Regions from separate parts of the Homo sapiens genome. Here region 2 is linked to region 1. Evidence: promoter capture Hi-C in 16 types of primary human blood cells and fetal thymus (Javierre and others, 2016). All regions are on one chromosome and are shown on one strand. The core of a region is centred on a gene start or on the middle of the fragment in contact, and the rest is flanking DNA. Distances in the headings are between cores, read along the strand shown.

Evidence for each region. The method cuts DNA at HindIII sites, captures the fragments that hold promoters and counts their contacts. A CHiCAGO score of 5 or more calls a contact.
Region 2: a fragment that was not itself captured here is called in contact with the fragment with the promoter of MBL2 in region 1 in 2 of 17 cell types (fetal thymus and megakaryocytes); the score reaches 6.0 in fetal thymus.

The regions. Positions count from the first base shown.
Region 1 is chr10:52,771,534-52,776,327 of GRCh38, reverse strand. It overlaps MBL2 (mannose binding lectin 2), which reads left to right and starts at 3,544. Exons shown (of 5, transcript NM_001378373.1): 1 at 3,544-3,591; 2 at 4,684-4,794. The coding sequence starts at 4,693. The HindIII fragment of the contact is 7,250 bases long and covers 1-4,794 here.
Region 2 is chr10:52,595,759-52,600,401 of GRCh38, reverse strand. The region is part of intron 1 of LOC105378305 (a long non-coding RNA gene); the gene reads left to right. Among named protein-coding and RNA genes, the nearest start is that of LNCAROD, 130 kb to the right of the region's middle. The HindIII fragment of the contact is 3,439 bases long and covers 595-4,033 here.

The DNA.
Region 1 (4,794 bases), core at 2,295-4,794:
CATTCCAAAATCATGTCTTCATATAGACAGAAAAGGTTGCTCTGTGAACCACAAAAACGAAAAACATGCCCCTCTCCTGCTTAATATAAACATCTGCCACTCTTTTACAAAATACAGCTTCGCCTTGCTCTGTTCTACTTATCTCCTAAATAAAAGTTAAGATGCACAATCACAGAATTGCCCAGCTTACGGACAGCACCCTATCCAGAACAGACTCCTGCTTCTTAAACCCCTTCCCCCAAAACCAACTAAAACAAAACAAGTCTTATAGAAATCCCCTCCCGACACCCTGTTACTGAGAAATCCTAGGGTACACCATTGTGCTCAATATCCCTGTTGGAACAAACAGTTAAAAGAAACTAAAAATAATAAATCCATTTTATCTGACTATAAGCATATTCCTGATGGTCCTCACTTGGAGAGCAATAACATTCTCATTGCTATTGTCCTACTCACAGCAGCTCTGTGGAAAAGGGAATGAGGTTCAAAATCTGATTTGAAAGATGTAAAACTGAGGTTCGGCCAGAATATGGGGTCTATCTAAGCTCATATTCATGAGACAAAACCAAGCCTTCTGGTTTCCAATCTCAAACCATGCCTCTCACATGGAGCCACCCAAGAACACTGCTTCCCAAGCTGAGAAGACTCTTGAACAGTCACCCTGGAGGGAATGAAGGCCTTTCTTAAGCAGGCTGTCATGGTGAGCCACGTGCCATGCACTCTGAATGTGGACCAGTTAAGGACACACCACTCCACAGCCAAGGCAGCGGTGCCCTCTTTCCCAGACGAGGAAACTGAGGACATGAAGGCAGTGGAACTTGAATAAGGTCACACTGTTGGGAAGTGGGAGAGCTGGGATTTCACCCTAGTCTACAAAAAAGGGGATGTAGGGCACCAGGCAGTCCTCCTGCAGGTCAGAGAGGCAGTTTTCTCTGCAGCCTCTTGGGGTGAGGTGGATTTGTTGTGGCGCTGCCAGAATGGAAGCAGTGTTAGGAAAGTGGAAAGTTTTTTTTTTTTTTAGACGGAGAGGCTCTGTCGCCCAGGCTGGAGCGCAGTGGTGCAATCTCAGCTCACTGCAAGCTCCGCCTCCCGGGCTCACTCCATTCTCCTGCCTCAGCCTCCTGGGTAGCTGGGATTACAGGCACCCGCCACCACGCCCGGCTAGTTTGTTGTTTTTTTTTTTTTTGTATTTTTTAGTAGAGATGGGGTTTCACTGTGTTAGCCAGGATGGTCTCAATCTCCTGACCTCATGATCCGCCCGCCTCGGCCTCCCAAGGTGCTGGGATTACAGGAGTGAGCCACCACGCCTGGCTGGGAAGGGTTTTAAAGTCCAGAACAAATGCACACAGTGGCCTTATCTATGGGGTGGAGTGCAGAGTGGGCATTCGTGTGGAGAGAGACATTCAGGCTGCGGCATGTGGAGAGTGGCCTCTCCTTTTGGGAAAGGCCTTCTGGAGAGCAGGATGTAACTGGGTGACACTCCAATCTCCGGATCAATTGCTAGATTGACTTTCCCCCAGATACCCACACCCTCTGAACCCAGTTCTAGGAAATTTCAGGGTCTGGAGAGCAGTTTCCTGACCTCTGGACTAGGTAAACAATGAAAGCAAGCACTGTGATTAAAGCCAGCACCGCCAGTGACCTGGAGTCAACTACCTCACCTCACCTTCTGCCACTGGAGCAGGAGCAGGGGGAAGCTCTGGCTGCTAAAGAATAAGAAGGGAAACAAGTCTTCTCAGGCCCTGTCTTCTTTAGGCCCTGGATCTCCTGATATCCACTGATGGCTTTAGGCATGTGGCTCTGTACCATCCTGGACATTTTTCCAGGCACAGCAGACAGGTCAGCAGGAAGTAAGGAAGCCAGTCCCTCCACAAGCCAAGAAGACTTCAATTGGAAGGGACCTGGAAATGCATCTTACTCACATTTCTTTTGGTGTTTGGAGGCCTCCATAGTACCCCCACCACATGGCCCCGCAGCCTCTGAACTTCTCAGGATGGGCTCCCCAACACCCCAAGCTACATGGCATTTTTCTGAAAGCCATATCAGTAATGTAGTTGAGAATCAAATGAACTATGTTCGTAAAAGTATTCTTCCATCCCTTCTAGATTGTCCCCATTAACCACAGCAAGATGGTTCAAGCCATTAACACACACGATACCCATGATCTTATAGTGCCAAGTGCTGTTCTTTTGCTTCTTATCTCAGTTGAGTGGCTCCTAGATAGTCAAGTCATAAATGTGTGTGCCCATGAAAACTTCTTATTATCACTCACTATTCTAGCTAATTCTCAAGTGCAATCAATACCTCCTGTTTCTCAAGTGTGCCTACCTTCTTAATCTAGCTGCCATTACCCTGACCCAGGCCACTGTCTTCTGCTGCTTAGATCATGGCAAGCACTTCCTTTTAGATCTGCTTTTCTCCAGTCCTGTTCCCCTCAACATCATAGCCAGAACAAGCCTTGCAAAATTCAAATGTGATCACCTCTCCACTACTGCAGTCCCTCTAGTGCCCCCTGGAAGGAAACCCAAAGTCTTTAACACAGTTTACAATTCTTGTTATGAGGATGAAATTTGAAGACATTGTGCTAAGTGAAATAAGCCAGATACAAGGGGGCTATTGTATGATTTCACATATATGAGGTACCTAGGATAGATGAATTCAGAGAGACAGAAAGTAAAACAGAAGTTACCAGTGGCTGTGGGTAGGGGTAAATGGAGAATTCTAGTTTAATGAGTTGAGAGTTTCAGTTTGGGATGATGAAAATCATCCCATGATGTGGTGATGATAGCACAACCGTGTGAATGTACTTAATGCTACTGAGTTGTGTGCTTAATAATAATGGTCAAAATGGTAAATTTTATGTCTATTTTACCACAATGAAAAACTGGAAAAGTAAAGTCAATGACTATAATATCATAAAGTGTAAGTAACATGAGAGAAAATAATTCAGGCTAAGAGGATAGAGACTGCTAGGTAGGACTATTTTAGAATAAGTGATCAAGGTACTGATTTCTCTGAAATTGGAATATTTGAATAGAAGAGAAAGAGCTAGCTGGCGATGCCCGTAAGGGGTCCAGGCATGGAGACATCAAATGAAGAGTCTGAGGCAGGAATGGCCTTAATGCATTAATGGCAGCAAGAGGTCTATGTGGTTTCATGGATGGGTGTGTGCGTGCATGCACGTGTCTGTGTGTATAGTTGGTGTGCATGAGCATGTGTATGCATTTGTGAGTATCTTTGTTTTTCTGTTGGAAACAAGGATGTCAACAGGACTAACTAGGTGAACCTAGCTGTGGTAGTTCAGCAATGAGATTTGCCAAAATGGATGGCAATTGAAAGAGGAATTGTGCTGTATTAAAGCAGACAGCTGCCGAGCACTGTATTGGAGGCTCCTAAATTTCTCATAGTTCTGAGAAGAGCTGTTTATTAATCTGGAGTTGAAGGCCAGGCCCAGGATATCCTTGTTCACAAGGTTGATTGGGCCCTACATTGCTGAGCCCAGCCTCCTCCCTCACTCTGAGGCATCTGCCAGAGCCCCAGGCTAGAGGGCCAGCGTCCTTGTCACTGAGTCCCTGCTCTGCAGAAACACCAGTAAGTCATTTCTGGTGAATAAATCTGGGTTTCCGGATCAAGGGTTTGGGGAGCTGACATGACCCTGGAGGCATGGAGGAGGCTTTCTAGGGGTGGGGGGAGTGGGATGGAAAGCAGAAATCAGGTTGAGGATGTCTCTTTTTCTGCTTGTGCTGGAGCATCTGTGACTTTCCTCCATTATCTGTTCATCTGCAGTGGAGACTGTCTTTGTTTTCAAAGGGAAACTTGGAGGCTTAGACCTATGGGGCTAGGCTGCTGAGGTTTCTTAGGGGGCAATAGCTGGAAGAAAGCTCTGAAGAACAAATGAAAGGTTAATACTGAGAAATGGGAGGAGGATTCAAGGCAAGTTTTCTAATTGCCAGTGGTTTTTGACTCACAGAACATGGGGAATTCCTGCCAGAAAGTAGAGAGGTATTTAGCACTCTGCCAGGGCCAACGTAGTAAGAAATTTCCAGAGAAAATGCTTACCCAGGCAAGCCTGTCTAAAACACCAAGGGGAAGCAAACTCCAGTTAATTCTGGGCTGGGTTGGTGACTAAGGTTGAGGTTGATCTGAGGTTGAGACCTTCCTCTTTGGATCACCAGCTTTCAGCTCAGGGCCTGCCAATGAGTAAATGATAGTTAACAGGTCCTGGAGGGGAATCAGCTGCCCAGATACAAAGATGGGATTCAGGTGGCAGATGGACCCGAAGAGGACATGGAGAGAAAGAGGAAGCTCCTACAGACACCTGGGTTTCCACTCATTCTCATTCCCTAAGCTAACAGGCATAAGCCAGCTGGCAATGCACGGTCCCATTTGTTCTCACTGCCACCGAAAGCATGTTTATAGTCTTCCAGCAGCAACGCCAGGTGTCTAGGCACAGATGAACCCCTCCTTAGGATCCCCACTGCTCATCATAGTGCCTACCTTTGTTAAAGTACTAGTCACGCAGTGTCACAAGGAATGTTTACTTTTCCAAATCCCCAGCTAGAGGCCAGGGATGGGTCATCTATTTCTATATAGCCTGCACCCAGATTGTAGGACAGAGGGCATGCTCGGTAAATATGTGTTCATTAACTGAGATTAACCTTCCCTGAGTTTTCTCACACCAAGGTGAGGACCATGTCCCTGTTTCCATCACTCCCTCTCCTTCTCCTGAGTATGGTGGCAGCGTCTTACTCAGAAACTGTGACCTGTGAGGATGCCCAAAAGACCTGCCCTGCA
Region 2 (4,643 bases), core at 1,065-3,564, 170 kb after region 1:
CACAGTAAATTTGTTTTTCCCACATTTTTTTTTTCTTTCTGTGGTCTCATGTTTTCTAATTATTTAAAGAGAAGCACTCATTCTTTACTTGGACAAAATATTATTAATATCCCCACCATTTGGGATGATATTTTTATAGGGTATTATAATAGGTTTTTATGTATGAATTTGACTATTAAATTGAAATAATTTACACTAAATACAGATAGAAAGAATAACTTATTTAATCAGACCAGATGATATGATTAAAGCCATTGTTCCTGTAGACAGACAGTAGGTTATGTACTTATCCAGATAATTTGATTACTGTAAACAGTCAACTTTGCCTGAATTATCTGGATAATTGCCTCACTTCTCCATTTTACATAGCCTAAGGTTCTAGGTTTATTTTTGCTTCCCACGGACCACTTTCTGCAGTGATCAGCAATCAGAGAAAATCAGATTATCACTCTGTTTAACCTTCCTGTGCCTTGGGTAATTAAGTCAACAAATTAGCTAAAGGCTCCAATGCGGAAGGGGATTGGTAGACTGTGGTTAAGACACATATTTACGAATTTTCCCTTAAGCTGCTTTTTTTTTTTTTTTAAGGAAGCTTTGATAAGAAGCATATGATCTCAATTATCATTAACTCTTTGTGGTTTCGTGTTTGGGAGCTTGAACTAGACTTTAGAAGGCCTAGGACCCCCTTCCATGTGTGCCTGAGCAGTATATTGGCAGACCATTCACATTTTCCATCTCATTATCTCACATCGAGAAAGCAGACTTAAATCACTCTTCACACACTCATTACAGACTGAGGGACTATACTTACTTGAGCAGGCTGCTTTGGGATTTTCTTTAGTGACTTTTGGTTATATGCTTTTGTAATCAACTGAGCGTCTTTCTTTAAGGCTATTTTTCAATACGAAATTCTTTAAAATGAAATCTCTTAAAATCTGAGGGAAAGGTATAGACATAAAAACAATTCCTATCATATACAGATAAATAAGAACTTAATAAAAATTTATTGCTATTGTTTCAAAATCTAACCTTTATTTTTTAATGTTGTTTTGTTATTTGTTTTTCAGTATTTTAAATTTAGTTTTTCTGTAGAAAAGTTTTGAAGGATACCAGAATGTGTAATAGCTGATGTGTCATAATATCATTATTGATTATACATATTGATAAGCTACTCCAAATATTAACCTTTGATTCAGAACCAGGAATGGGCTTAGCGTGAGGACTCGCAGGACTTGGCCAGTTGGAATGCACAGGCTGATGAGCCCAGCTATGTCTGAGTGCACAATTTCAAAGGAGCATGTCTGTCTCACTAATCCTGTGTAAATGTGTAAATCATTCAAGGTCTAATCAAATAAAGTGTTCTGTCTGATGGAACCCTTCAAACATAGGGCATATAACTTCAAGAAAAGTGGAGTTTTGTTCTGCAAATCATCATATAAAACATTATATTTGTGATGAGGCAGATTTTCTGGTTATCTATGTATATATTATACTGCCATAGAAGTAAGAAAAATATTTCAAATACTATCACTTTGGTATATCACTCCCAAATCTAATAGAAAAGTGGCATCCGCTAAAAATAAGGACTTGGAGAATATATAATTGTACTTTTCCACTCATTGCTTTGATGAGAGAACAATTCTATAGTGCCTACCAATACTGAAATTAATGTAACAGCCAAAGCCACAGAAACACTTGGATAAATAGTGGGTGTTTATGGCAGTGGGATTTTGACATTGTGGCAACACTCTTTATTACAATTTTATTTTGAAGAATTGTTACTGTTGCTCACTTTTAAAATAATATTTGAGTTTGATAACCATGCATTAATCAGAAATCAGCCTATTGCATTTTACTGTACAAAGGAACCATTACTGAATCTAAAAACAGTTGATGATAGTGACATTATCACTATTATTAATTTATAATAGTGGCTATTTTCCTGTTATTAAAACCATGTGAAAATTTCAATTAAAATTAACTTTTTAAAGCTGAGTAACCCCAGGAAAGAGACAATGCCCATCTTTTCCAGGGGCAGGGAACAAGTTTCTGTCTTAGCTGCATGTAATCCTCCATAAAGATGTAGAAATTGAAGAGTACCTTATTATACCACAGATAATTTATCAATTTCATTCTGCAACTGAACAACTTCCCTATTCCTGGTTTGCATGGAAGACAGGCTAGATTAACTCACTGAGATAAATATTCCCCAAGATTTTTATGAATTACAAAAGGTTTTTTTTTTTTTTTTGCTATTTCAAGAGGAGCATTTTATTGCCTTGGTAGCTGAAAACAAATCTTCATGTATTATTCCAAATGACTTGCCCAGTTTGCCTCCTAAGATATGGATCGAAAAAATAAATATTATATTTTAGATAATGAAAGTAATGGGTACCCAATGTGAAACTTGAAAAATGGGTAAAAAAATAAAAAATAAATAATGGTCATTAAGTAGGAATATTTTTATACATTTTTAGAGTTTTCTGTGAATAAGTATTTTCCACAATTGAGAACACATTGCATATTATCATTTCAAGTCACATTTCTTCCTGACTTAGTATTATAGCATGTGTATATCATTTAGAATTTATTATATTTCAAGGGTCAGTAAACCCAATTCAAACTGGCTGAAAAAAATCCAGGATATTATTGGCCATAGAACTGAAAAATCCAGCAGGAGAAGTAGATTCAAGCACACACCAAAAGTTCGTCTGGGCTCTGGTTTTATTTACTTTCACTTCTCTCAGATTTACTTTCTTTACTTGGCTTTTCCTCATATTAGCTTCCCTTATGGTATGGAACTCAAACCACTAGAATCAGTTCCAGACTTTACACCCTCTTACCACTGTATTCAAAGAGAGATATTGTTTTCCAAAGCTCTTATAAAAGAAAATATTTTTTCCAATATTTCTAGAAAAATATCAATGGTACACTCTAATGAGAGATGTTTAGATCTGGTGCACGCCCCTAAAACAATCTTTAAGACAAGGGAACATTTTTTTCTGATAGGCTTAGACTTGGGATACATGTTCCAACCCATCTGGTCCACACAGACCAAGTACTATTTAATGCACTTATAACTACCACCTTAAAAGTATCTATGCACTTATAACTACCACATTAAAAGTATCTTCACAAATATCATTGTAATGTCGGTGTACTATCTCATTTTACTGTTATATCAACATTTTATTTAACATGCTTCTCTTATTAGATATTTAGGCTGTGTCCAACATTTCTTTTTTTTTTGTTGTTGTTGTTGTTGAGACGAAGTCTCACTCTGTCACCCAGGCTGGAGTGCAGTGGCGGGCTCTCGGCTCACTGAAAGCTCTGCCTTCTGGGTTCACACCATTCTCCTGCCTCAGCCTCCTGAGTAGCTGGGACTACAGGTGCCCGCCACCACACCCAGCTAATTTTTTGCATTTTCAGTAGAGATGGGGGTTTCACCATGTTAGCCAGGATGGTCTCGATCTCCTGACCTCGTGATCTACCCACCTCGGCCTCCCAAAGTGCTGGGATTATAGGTGTGAGCCACCGCACCTGGCCAACATTTCTGTAATGTAAATCATTTTGCAAATATCCTCTTTTATAAATATTTGGCTGCCTCGGGTTTTAATCTTTTAAAGATTACTACAAGTATAGTAGTTAGACCAAAGAAAAAGATATTTTTCTTTCTTATGTTGCTTTTTAGAAGAACCATATACCTCATATGTAGGGATACCTATCTATTACACCCTTGCCAGCATCATTTTTTAAAAATCAAAACTTTGTAATTTGTGAAATCATATACATCATGGTTATTTTTATTCAACTTTATTTACTTTACTAATGAAATTTATATTTCTCTTTAGTAATAATTGAGAATAGTAATTGGGCACTACTGTCCACCAATTACTAGTCTGGACTTAGATATATCAGATTATTTCAACATCTTAAAACCTATATAATTAATTAACTTGCCAAAAGTAAAATAAATAGTTAATGGATGGCCATCCAGGATTCAAATCATGTTTACCTGACTCAAATCTAAGCTTTTAATAATCTTGCAAAACTACTTCCTGAATTATCCATAGCAACTATTTGTATTTCCTACTTTGTTATTTGGTTATAACATTTACTATGATTCACTGGGAAGAATTCTAATCTCTGCTTGTTTCCAAAATCTAAAATAGCCAAAAGGCATCACAATTGAATTCACTATAGAATTGAAACTTTTCTAAGGAAAAATGAAAAATCTGGTGAAAGTCAAAGTCACAGTTTCTACACAGATTACTACCATTCTGTCATTCAGCACATGGGTGCTAAACTGAAATGCTCTACATAACTTTACATTATTAATGTTTGCAAAAGGCAAAAAAAAAAAAAGAATTTATTGCTTTAGCCCTCTTCTCTACGTCCTTGTCTGTCTGTCATGGCTGAAAGCAAAGTCTACAAGTGTTAATAAGATCTCTCTACAATTTGTATTTAAAATGCTTACAAAATTGGAAATGGAAAGAGTATCTTGCCAACTTACACTAATATTCCCAGTTCATAGGTTGAAATATGAAAGAGAAGATTATAAAACTTGTATCTATGTGTTTGTATTAGCATGAAACAGAATTACATTCACAAAAGGCCTTTATGATTTTGCTAAAGAATATTCA